Linked DNA regions of Homo sapiens: region 1 is linked to region 2. The links are contacts of gene promoters, found by promoter capture Hi-C in human tissues and cell types (Jung and others, 2019). All regions are on one chromosome and are shown on one strand. The core of a region is centred on a gene start or on the middle of the fragment in contact, and the rest is flanking DNA. Distances in the headings are between cores, read along the strand shown.

Region 1 (6,431 bases), core at 3,455-5,954, 170 kb before region 2:
CTTAGAACACACCCCACTTCTTTCAGCCCATCTCTCAGTTTTTCCTCCAGCTGAGGGCTAAGAGGTTTGAGATCTCAAATGTTTTCTCTTCTTCTAAAAGCCTTTCTGTCCAGCTTGTGCTGATCCACATCAGGCAAGACATTTTACTTTGAACATCTCTCTGTAAAATGAAATGCTATTGTCTAAGAATGGTGCCTACAGATTTCACTGCCATTGCTGATTTAAGCATCTTTTCTTCTACCTATTTTTTTCTTACTTTGAAATTACGAAAACAGATATCAATTATGACTGTAAAACAATTGTCATTTTAATGAAAGTGAATCCATTTGGAAGATAATGTGAGCAACACTGCATCTCTCACAGCAGCACAACCCCCATCCAATCCTATTAGAACTAGGAGCCTGGGGTACAAAACAAAATCACAACTCTTTTAGTATTCAGATCAGTATGACTTCAAGCTCTGTTCTGTTCATTGTGAGGGTGTTCCTCTTCTCCAGAGCTACCTGCTCTACAGAGTTCACGAATCTTGATGATTCACTGAACTTGGTCCATCCATGTGATGGTAATTTGGAACCCCAGGGGTCAAGATATCAATTTGCTGTGTTATTACTCTGTTAAACCCTTTCCTCCCAAATGACTTCATGACCCCTATACAGAGTGTCCCTCTTTCATTCCAGAAACTTTCCTGTCTCAGGGGTTTGGGATGGGAGGTGGTTCAATGAATCTCATGCCTACAGAACCCCAGGCCTTCCAAACAAATATCATATTATACTTTCTTCCAGAACAATGGTTGTTCAAGATCCTGAAGGGTCTCAGGACCCTTTGCAACTGTGCCTCCAATGAGTGCCCCTTTGCGACTATGCCTCTTCCCCCTTAAATCAGACCTCTGACAGCATCCATGGAGACCTTTCTAAATCATGAATCCAGCCCCACTGCTGCCTTCCCTGCATAGAATGACCCCCTCTTTCCCTATGGATACAACCCCAGCTTCACAATTTCCGCAGTTTGGATCTCCTGCCCATCCCCCAGCCATGCTTCCCCCTTCCTCCCTTTCTACTTCACCTCATACTCTGTGACGTCACAGAGGATGTTCTTTCCTCCAGTGTTTGCAGGAGCCCCTTCCTCTGCGTGGAGTGAAGCTCCCTCCTATTCTGAAACTTCCCCAGAATTGATGGATCCCTCCTCTGTTTCTTGCTCTGAGTTCCACTGTTGCCAGGCCATACTGTGTTGTAATTTTCAGCTCTATGGCCTGTCTTTCTCGCCTCTCCCTAAGGATGGTGACTGCACTTCAGCCATCTTGGTGTCTCTAGGCTCTGGCACAGAGGGAATGCTCCAGTCATGAAACAGAAAGCCCCATAGTCCCAAGTTCTCAAATCTACCTTTTGTTGGGGCGGGGAAGGTTTGAGAGGCTAGTGCGCCCAAAACTCAGTCTTTCTTCCAAAGGCTCTGAGCCCAGGAGGAGCTACCAGAACTACGGAGCAGTTTTAATTTGGGTATCTGACCACAGGCAGCATGTGCCCACAGCCGTCCCCATGGGAACCATGTCAGGCGAAGCTCCGACTCCGAGTGAGCAGCCTGCCTCAGCCCTGCACTCCCTCCTGCCTACTGCAGCCCCAGGGCCCAGCAGGACACCCACAGCCCCCACCTCAGGGGCCCACAGGGGCTGCAGCTGCAGGGATCTGGGTGGGCAGGTTGCCATGGAAACCAAGCTGCTCATCTCTCCCTGGTGTCTGGAGTTCTGACAGGAAGGCCAGGCTCCACCAACGCATCCTCATTCCTGGGCTCCTCCTCGACCTCTCAGCCCGTGTCCAGGGCACATCATGAACACAGAGATGGATTAAGAGTCTGAGAGGTACAGGGAAAGCAGAGGAACCAAGAAACTGGCCATGATTCTCTCCCTGCCACCTCATCAGGCCACTGCCACAGTTCCCGGTGCAGGTTACCACCTGAAAGGAGTTGACTTACCCAACGGGTAGTAACCAAAGAAGGCCAGAGTCACATTTGGGAAATTTTGGTATCAGGAGCCTTGGACCAGGAGATCTTATTCTGACCTCATTCTGATATTTCATAGCCTGACGTCAACGGTGAAGCCTCTCAACCTCTCTAAGCCCAGTTTCTCCACGTATAAAGTAAGGACCGTTTTATCCACCAGATTTTCACTGGGTTTTATTACTCAAAGATAAATTGCAAGCTACAAAGACTGTGTGTGTATAAGGGATTGTTATTATCCAGGTTAAAACATAACCTGTATTCAAAAGAATTCGATCAATGCACATGTGACAAAAGCTGATGAATTATTAAAAGGAGCAATTCCTGGATTCCTCTCCTAAGTCTTAGCTCAGAACCTCTCTACCTAGCTAGGCCTGGTGCTAAGGGCTGGAGATCTAGAAACAAGGCACGGGTCCTGCTCTGGAGGAACTCCTGGCCTCATAGAAGTGTTGTTTGTTGACCTACTGTGTGCCTAGCACTGTGAAGCATGCCAGAATAGACATGGTCACACTTTTCTTAAGGAGCCCAAATAAAACTTTTCAGGGAGATGAACACAAGACATACACCTATGAAACAGAGAAGGAAGATTGTAACTTATCTGGGAAGAAGGCTCTAATGCATGTCTCCAGTAGGTACAGGAAGATTCCTGTACTATAGCATGGAAAGAGGAGATTGAGTCAAAGGGGCAAACACTAGTCTACATTATAAAAGTCTCTGGTTGGCTAGAGAAGAAAAAATTTTTGCAAAATATGTTGCCTTCTGAGGAATAATTATTGTCTTTTAATATGCATTTGTTAATTCATCTAATTGCATATTTTGTCTCTCCCTCCCTTCAGAATGTAAGTTCCATGCGTGCAGAACTTCATCATCTTTTCATTTTCATATCTTCAGCCATGAGCATAGATTTTCATTAAGCAGATTTTCATTAAGCACTACCTAAATAATTACATAGTAGGGACAATAGGCATTCAACAAATTGCCTGAAGAAGTGCTTTCTATCCACAGTGACATAAGTACTTCTTCTTTTATTTTTCCCCCAAAACTCCTATTGCAGTTGGTAGCACAGTAAAATCCTGCCATGATGCCCTATGTGGGGCCCAAAAAGTTCATTTGCGGAGAGTATGTGTTGCATTGTCATGAGGTCCATGAAGTGACTAGGCTGTGCCAACCACCAAGGATGAGAGCCAATTACCAACTGCTATCTGTGTGAGTTTGTGTTATTCTAGGAAATGTCACTGCAAGAGGCATTAACGTGGTCATTTTCAGAATTAGTTGTTCAGTCTTTGTTTCCCTACTAGACTGTGAGCTCCTCACACATGGGCTGTGCTCAATAAATAAGTATCGAGTGAATGAATAAATGAGTTCATAGGAGAGTAGAACATGAGTATTCCACCTTGGTTTGGAGGGTCAGGGAATGTTTAGTTTGAGGAGAGAAGGATGACTCAAAATTGGTAAGTGAAGGGAAGGGAATAAATGGGATGTGAGAAAACAAGCAAGAACATTTACAAAGACTCTGAACTGGAAGAGTGTGGTGTGTTCAAGCATCTGAGAGCAGCCCAATATCACTGGGGTATGAAAGAATGGGTAAGGTGGGGCATTGTTAAAGACAGATCATGGAGAACTCATAAACTACTTCTGGGATTGGGGACTTCATTGTAACAGCAGTGGGCAGGCACTTGAAGGTTCTCAGTAGAGGTGTCTTCTGACAAGATGTTCATTTTCATAAAGAACAGTCTGGAGAATGTGCTGCAGAGTGGTGAAATGATAGGGGGAAACCTGCTGGGCGTTCACCAATGTCATCTAGGAGAGAAGATAGTGATGTATCGTGTTGGTGGCCAGGGAGGTAGAATCAGGGAGTTTCTAGGAGTTCAAGTTAAAGGACTTGGTAGGGAATGGAGGTAGGGGTGAGGAATAGGAGGGACTCATGCATAACCTCTAGACTTCTGGCTTGAGTGTCCAGGTAGACGGTGACTGAGGAGGATCTCTGAAGGAGAATCATTTTGGAGTGGGGCATGAGAACAGAAATATCTAGCTCAGTTTTAAACATACTCAACCGGAGATGCTTATGAGATACCCATAAATGGAGATTTGAGACTTTGCTACATTCACGGATATATGAGTCCAGAATGTAGGGGAGAGATTTGTATTGGAGATAAGGGCTTAGATGCCATTTAGGTATAAGGTAATTGAAGCTATAGGAGAGAATGAAATCACCAAAAAGAGGGCCTAGGACAATACCTAAAGCAATGTCAAGATTCAATAGTCAGATGATGGAGAACCAGCTATGGAGGCTGAAGAGGATCCTCTGCCAATAAAAGCCAAGGGAAGGGCTTGCTTCTGCAAGGTGAATGTGGCCAATTATGCTGAACACCAATGATAAGGATCAACTGAGAAGATTCATGAGTCTACAGGGAAAAAATGGAAATCCCTCAGGATTATGGGGGGGGTCCCATCTTGGTCCCCCATGAAAATTTCTTCCTTCCTTGGATATACCCATTCCTCTCCCTCTTCCAGCTTTCTCCCTCTGGATAGGAATTCAAGAGTCAGATTATTTCCCCCTTTAACTGGAGTTTGGAGGGGGTGAGAGGAGTAAGTAGCTGGTGTCACTACGAGGTCCCTTGAAATAATTTTCATCATGATACATTATCACTGCTATAGACACTTCCTGTTGTTTCCTAAAACAGGAAGCTGGGCCCTTCAGAAATGGGCCTCCTTCCACCTCCGACAGGCTCACTAAAGTGGACCAAATACCCCCCAGCCTAGATATCATCAGAATGTTAAACACCCACCTCCTTTGCTCTTTTGTACCTTAAACGAACCACTTCTGGATAGCTTAAAGAGATTCATCATTTAAGATTTGGCCTCCTATCCAGCAGTAGATCATTGGGAAAGAAGGTTTAATTAGGGCTGCCTATGACATTTTACATACACAGCCTTGGAACCTACGACAGAACACTAGGTATCACCATGAATAACTGGCACTAAAGGAATTAGGCCACTTGCATGGGTGCTCAATGAATCCAGAGCTTCCCTACCCTCCCTGTATGCCACCACTCTTCCATCTGCTATCATGCTTACTTTAATATCTTTAAAAATATATAACATTTTAGGCTGGGGACTGTGGCTCACGCCTATAATCCCAATACTTTGGGAGGCCGAGGCAAGTGGATCACCTGAGGTCAGGAATTCGAGACCAGCCTGGCCAACATGGCGAAACCCCATTTCTACTAAAAATAAAAAAATTAGCCGGGCATGGTGGTGCGTGCCTGTAATCCCGGCTACTCGGGAGGCTGAGGCACAAGAATCACTTGAACCCTGAAGGCAGAGGTTGCAGTGAGCCGAGATTGCACCACTGCACTCCAGCCTAGGCGACAGAGTGAGACTCCATCTCTAAATAAATAAATATAAAAAATATATAACATTTTATTTTGAAATAGTTTGAAAGGCTTTTGAAAGACTCTCAAAAGGTTGCAAAAATAGTATTGTTTCCATGTACTGTTTACCCACCTTTCCCCAATTATAATATCTTCTATAATCATAGCACGTTGTATAAACCAGTATACAATGATATGTATACCGCCATAAATTGATATGGCTACATATTTTTTAACTCAGTATTTTTAACTCAGGTATAAGCTTTATTTAGAGTGCACCAGCTTTACATGTACTTTCTTTTTATTAGTCTTATTCTTATTTTGGAGGGTCTAGAGTTCCATGTAATTTTAATACAGTTTTTTTTTTGTAATTAAGATGTAAGTCCCACACCACAAAATTTATCATTTTAAGGTGTACGGTTCAGTGGTTTTTAATATATTCACAAAGTAGTGCAACCATCACCACTATCTAATTCCAGACATTTTTATCACTGTAAAAAGAAACCCCATACCCATTAGCACTCACTTCTTTTCCTCCCCTTCCTTGGCAACCACTAGTCTATTTTCTGTCTATGAAAGGACATTTCATATAAATGGAATCATAAAATATGAGGCCTTTTGTGTTTGACTTCTTTTACTTAACATACTATTTTTTAAATTTTATTTATTTATTTATTTATTTTATTATGCTTTAAGTTCTAGGGTACATGTGCACAATGTGCAGGTTTGCTACATATGTATACATGTGCCATACTTAACATACTATTTTTAAGCTTTGTCCAGGTTGTAGCACTTATTAGTACTTTCTCTTTTTTTTTTTTTTTTTTTTTTTTTAGACAAAGTCTTGCTCTGTCACCCAGGTTGGAGTGCAATGGCCCAACCTTGGCTCACTGCAACCTCCACCTCCCGGGTTCAAGCAATTCTCTTGCCTCAGCCTCCTGAGTAGCTGGGACTACAGGGGCACGGCACCATGCCCGGCTAATTTTTTGTATTTTAGTAGAGAGCAGGTTTCACCATGTTGCCTAGGCTGATCTCGAACTCCTGACCTCAGGCAATCTGCCCGCCTTG
Region 2 (5,896 bases), core at 2,725-5,224:
CCACCTCCACCCCTGGAATTAGCACAGTGAAGAAAACAGAAACACAAGACAGTTACTACTCTTCCAGCCATTTACCTTCTTCAATCTCTCACCTCAAGGGGAATGGATTAATAAAGTGCTGTGGATGCAGAACACAGAACATTCTGCAGCTATCAGAAGCAAAGAGCCAGCTGCCTACACCACAACACAGATACAGCTCAAAAGCAGGGTGTTGAGGGAGAAACATAAGGAAAAGAAGGAAATCTAGAACGATACCCATTTATATAAATGAAAAGCACATACACACCAACAGCCATTAATCATAAAAAATGTGCTCAATTTCATTAGTCATCAGGGAAATGCCAATTAAAACCAGAATATGAAACCTCTGCACACCCACTGAAGGAGATAAAATGAAAATGACAAAAGTATTAAGTGTTAAAGGATGCATGCATTCACTGCTGGTGGAGTGAATACTGGTGGAACCACTGTGGAAAACTGTCTGGCAACATCTGCTAAAAGCGAACACACATTATCCTATGACTCAGCAATTCCACTCCCAAATATGTACCTGGCAGAAATGGGTACATATGTTCATCAAAATTTATGTACTAGAATGTTCATAGGTGTGCTACTCATGAACCCCAAACTAGAAACTACCCAAACACCCATCAGCAGTAGAATGGGTAAAGTCTGGTATATGCATACAATAGGATGCTGTACAGCAACAAGAATGAATGAACTACAACAACAAGCAGCAACATGTGACTCTCATGAGCGTAAAGCTGATCAAAAGAAGCCAGACACAAAAGAGCTCCTATTATACAATTCCAGTTTAAATAAATATCAAAACCAGGCAAAACTAGCAAGGGGAATTCGATGTGACTGTAGTAGTTAACTCTGGGTGGGTGTAGCGGTGGTGACAGAAAGGGGCACAAAGAGGTCTTCTGTGGTACTGATAACGTTTGGTTTCTGTGTTGTGCTGCTCACACGGATGTGTTCAACAACAGAAAACCCTTTCAAGTGAACACTTAGGATTTGTGCAGTTTTCCATTATGTAGGTTCAATGGAAGTAAAACATAAAAAGAAAAGCTTTGGGCTGTTAGAAGAGAAAATGCATATGCACAAACAACAATACTACCTGTTTTACAAGGATGTGCACATAAAGACCTACTTTAGCTCCTAGAGGGGTGCCTGTGTGGAGAAGGAGATGGCAGTGGAGTGATGATGGGGGAAGAAATAAAACAAAAACACAAGAGAGGAGTAATGATATGGTTAACCCAGCTTTGAACCTGAGGCAAAGTAAAGGCAAACCCTGGGCGAAACTGAGGGGCGAATAAAGGACATACTAGTTTTTAAAAACATTTATCTCTGACAGCTGACAACATGTTCCTGTTATTGCTTTAATTAAATAGGGTTGGCCAGACATGGTGGCTCACGCCTGTAATCCCAGCACTTTGGGAGGCCGAGGTGGGTAAATCACGAGGTCAGGAGTTCGAGACCAGCCTGGCCAACATGGTGAAACCCCGTCTCTACTAAAAATACAAAAAATTAGCTGGGCATGGTGACGAGCACCTGCAATCCCAGAGACTCAGGAGGCTGAGGCAGGAGGATTGCTTGAACTGGGGAGGCGGAGGTTGCAGTGAGCCGAGATCACGCCACTGCACTTCAGCCCTGGAGGCAATGCAAGACTCCGTCTCAAACAAAACAAAACAAAACAAAACAAAAAATTTAAATAGGGTCTGGCAAAGAGAAGGGAGTAGCCAAGATCTTGGCAAGGGCTCTTTGTAGGAAGTGCCTGTCTCCAGACACCTGTTGCCTGTCTCTGCACTCTGAGGCCTCTCTAGGACCACAAGGTGTGCTTTTATGGATGAACTTCTACAGGTTCAGAGCTCTGGTTCCCCATCCCCTGGGCTTCTCTCCCCCTGTTTAAATTCAGGGTGCATGTAGACTTACCAGGCTCAGCCCACCTCTCCTGCTGGCAACATCCAGTTGCCCAATACTAAACAGGAGAGTGAAAACCCCACTTCTGCTACATATGGACGGAAGGGAGGCAGGTATCCACCCCTACTCCCAGCAGCTTCTATCCTAGCCTTGTCTCCTGCTTGACCCAATGTCAGTTTGCAAGTAGAAGCTTCATTCTGAGGCCGAGAAGCCCGTGATGGAAGTTCTTAGGGGAGGTAGGACCTTCCTGCTACTGTACTCTCCTGCCTGGTAGGTGTGACTCTGGGAAGGCGGCTGCACGTGGGTTGAAACGTTGACACTGCCTGCACTTCCCCTTCTGGCCGATAGTGGGAGCTGCTAGCCAACCTGAGGCTCGTCAGGCGCTAAAGGCTGGCAGCCGACCTGTGTGGTCCATCCGTCTGTACCCCAGACACCCCACTCAACTCGGGGCCGGAGAGGCCCATGTCCTGAACTTTCCTGTGGACTGACTTTCCTACTGATCCCCTCCTGCAAGCAGAGCAGCCCCTCCGTATGTACCTAAGGCGTCCAACGAAGCCCCACACCCAGGTCGCAAACGGACGCTGTCCCCCACCCCCCTCTTTGCCCTCCCACCTCTTCAAGATCCCCATCATGGAGGAGCAGGTCCCAGCCTCTGGGCTCCCAAACCCAGCACCTCTGTGCCCTCTGAGACCCTGGCACCCATTTGGCTCTCTAAGAGCGGTTCTTGCTTTTGGGAGCCCTGAAAATGTGGCAGAAAAGTGTACCATCCCTTCCAATGACTGTACTTTTTTCGTGGGCAAAAGCTGATGGCCTGTTTTTTGTTGTTGTTTTGTTTTGTTTTTGTTTTTGTTTTTAGAAGCGCAAGATTTATTGTGAAGAGGGAAAGAACAAAGCTTCCACAGCGTGGAAGGGGACCCAAGCGGGTTGCCCTGATGGCCTGTTTTGTTTAAACAAGAAGTGTGTCCCCATAGGTCCTGGGCATGGGCATGGGAGCAACTGTTTGTCAGCGTATGTCTCCGTGTGTGTGTGCCTGTGACCATGTCTCTGAGTGAGAAACAGTGGGTGTGTAAGTATGTGACTCCAGGCTCTGCATGTGTCAAGGTGAAGGTTGTATGTGGCTCAAGAGGGTGGAAGTATATATATAAAGAGGTATATACATGTATATATATGTATGTGTGTGTGTGTGTTTGCGCGCGCGCGTGTGTGGGTGTCTCTGTGTTGGTTGCCTGCTTGCTTCTGGGTCTGGGTGTGTGTTTGGTTCTGTCAGCATGTGCGTCCGTGTGTTCAGGTAGATGTGTACCATTGTGCAGATTTCTGTGGCATCACTAAGTGTGTCTCCAGGAAAGTGTGGTTCGAGTGAGTGTGTGTGTCTCTGTGTCAGTGTGTCAGTGGATGTGTGTCTAAGTCATGTGGGTGTCTAAGTTTGTCAGAGTGTCTTCCTCAGTGTCAGTGTGTGTCAATGATGTGTCTGTCTGTGTCTGTGTGGGTGTGTGGGGGTGTGTATCTGTCTCAGGGTGCATGTGTGTGTCTGTGTCAGTGCAGGTATGCCTATGGCAGCGTGTGTCTGTCTCGGCATGAGTGTCAGTGTATGCCCGTGTCCACGTGGGTGGGTGGGTGTCTGGTAGCCTTCCCAAGTCAGCAAGGTTGCGTGTGTGTGTGTGTATACTCTGGCGGGTGCTGGTGTGTATGCCAGTGTTTGTTAATGTGAGCCTGTCCGCGTCCGCGTGGGTGGCCATCTGTGGTGAAGCGTCGCCGGGTCGCCGTGTGTGTACCCCCGCCTATGTCTGTCTGTCCGCGGCCGCGTGTGCGGCTGTCTGTGGCTGTGAGCCCCCGGGTCAGTGTGGGAGTGTGCGCCCCGGCGGGCGCTGGTGTGTCCCCCCTCCGAGCGGGCGGAGCACCACGTGCGGAGCCCTGGGCGCGTCGCTCTGGGGCGGAGCCAGCCCGGGGCCCCAAGCCCCAGGCCGAACCCAGGCGGGGCCCGCCCCGACCCCGCCCCCGACCCCGCCCCCAGCCCGAGCCCGCGCCGCCTGCCCAGCCCGGGAGCCCGAACAGAGCCGCGGAGCCGAGACGGCGGCGGCGCCCGTAGGATGCAGGGATCGCTCCCCCGGGGCCGCTGAGCCTGCGCCCAGTGCCCCGAGCCCCGCGCCGAGCCGAGTCCGCGCCAAGCAGCAGCCGCCCACCCCGGGGCCCGGCCGGGGGACCAGCAGGTGAGCGAGTGCCCCCGCGCCCGGCAGCCCTGGCCCGGCCGGAGCCCCCTCCGCCTGCCGCCGCCCAACTTTCCTCCCCGAGGGCCGAAGCCTCCAGTCCCTGCGTGCTCCTCCCTGCCCCGGGTCCGCCCAGCCGCTCCCTCCCCGATCAGTGCCCCAGAGAGCCGGAGGGGGAGAAGGGGCGCAGATCCGCCCGGCTGGAGGGTATCCCCGGGGGAGACGTCTCTAAACACCGTGCGCCCCCCTTCCCTTCCCTTTCCTTCCGGGTTTCCCGGTGCGCTGTCGAGGGCCGGGGGAGGGGGAGCTGCGGCCCCAGCTTCCCGGCCATCCCTGGCGCAGGCTCGGGGAGGGTCTGGGATTGGGACCCGGATACCGGAGGCCGGAGACCCCAAGGTCAGAGCGGCGACTAGGCGCGCCATGAATGTGGTTCCAGAGAGCGGGGTTTGCGGGGGCTGACCGAGCAGGGCTGGATATGGGGGAGGAAGCCACGCACCCCCTTTCTCTGGGCCCAGGGGGAACCGTCCGCTGGGGCTGTCCTCTCTGTGGGACGAGATCTCTGCGCGTTTAGACCATGTAGAGATCTCGGTGCCCTTTGACGCCCTAAAGGGGCCGCATCTCCTCTGTCTGATCTCTGTGCTTCTCGAAGGGGTGGAGATCTCTTTGCGGTGAGATTGGAGAGAGTTCTCTGCCCTCCTCTCTCTGAGCCGGAACAGATCCACGCACCCTGATGGGAGGTGGCTCTCGACCTCTGTGTTATTTGATCGTCTTTGGTGGCGCTCTGGAAGAAAGTGGAGGTGCCAAGCTTTGTCCGAGAGGCCAAGAGCTGGTGGGGGCCAGAGGTGTGGGGACTGTTAGTGGTGGTGATGAGGATGGGGGGAAATGATGTTGGGGACAAGTCCCTGGCTGTAGGCCTGCCTTGCAAACACCTGTTGGAGAGCAGAGCACAGCCAGATCAGGATGCCATGGCTAAGATAGTGCAGGACTCACTCTTGTGCTCCTCAGTGCCTTCAGCCCAGCCCCGGGCCATGGGATCTATCTCCTCTTAAGGTCCTGGGCCTATGTTCCATTCCCAGGCATCTGCTCGCCTCCTGCTGAGACCCCAGGTGTGTCTCCCAGTGAGCCTAGGCAGTATCATCCAGATGGCAAACCACGTGACCCCCACCATGCCATGGCATCCCAAGCCCTCTCCCAGGTTCCCACCATCCTTCAGGATCTAGTGGGACCGTGAGCAGCAGAGGCCCCAGCTACTGGGGGCCCAGGCCATTGCCGCTGCCCTCAACTCCATCTGTTTGACCTCATCTCCACTCAGTTAGAATTGGGCAGGTGCATATGAATCGGTGGTAATGAGTGCGAGGTGGAATGAGGGTGGTCAGGCTGCTGTTGCAGGAGCATGGAGAGGGTGAGGTCAGGTGACAGCCAGGGTGTGGAACACAGATTCTATGTTACAGTGTCCAGCTCTGTGCTGAAAAGAGCCTCATTAAACTTTTAATCATGTCATCACTACCATATCATACAAGTGGGGAAACTGAGGCCCAGAGGAGCTCAAGGACTTATTCAATGTCATCTAGAGAATCAGTGGATTGGGGGCACCACGCAATGTGAAGACACCTTGAGATCTACTTTCTGTGGGGCAAATAAGCCTAGAACTGAGCCAGGAGGATCTGAGCAGAAGGGGAACTGGCCCTGGGGTGCCAAGAGCCAGCATTCAGCCCAATGTGGCAAGGGCAGCTGCTGTGCTCCAAGGTGCTCGGCTCCCTCTCTGTGTG

The links. Contacts are between HindIII fragments. The study calls those that stand out against the background at their distance.
Region 1: a contact is called between a fragment that was not itself captured here and the fragment with the promoter of SCN5A in region 2, in 1 of the 25 tissues and cell types used here (IMR-90 fibroblasts).

What each region holds. Positions count from the first base shown.
Region 1 is chr3:38,819,154-38,825,584 of GRCh38, reverse strand. LOC107986042 (a long non-coding RNA gene) reads right to left here and starts at 2,706. Exons shown (of 2, transcript XR_001740555.3): 1 at 1,063-2,706; 2 at 286-401. The HindIII fragment of the contact is 5,571 bases long and covers 1,919-6,431 here.
Region 2 is chr3:38,647,765-38,653,660 of GRCh38, reverse strand. It overlaps SCN5A (sodium voltage-gated channel alpha subunit 5), which reads left to right and starts at 3,974. Exons shown (of 28, transcript NM_000335.5): 1 at 3,974-4,130. RefSeq lists a silencer at 3,856-4,015. The HindIII fragment of the contact is 3,470 bases long and covers 2,466-5,896 here.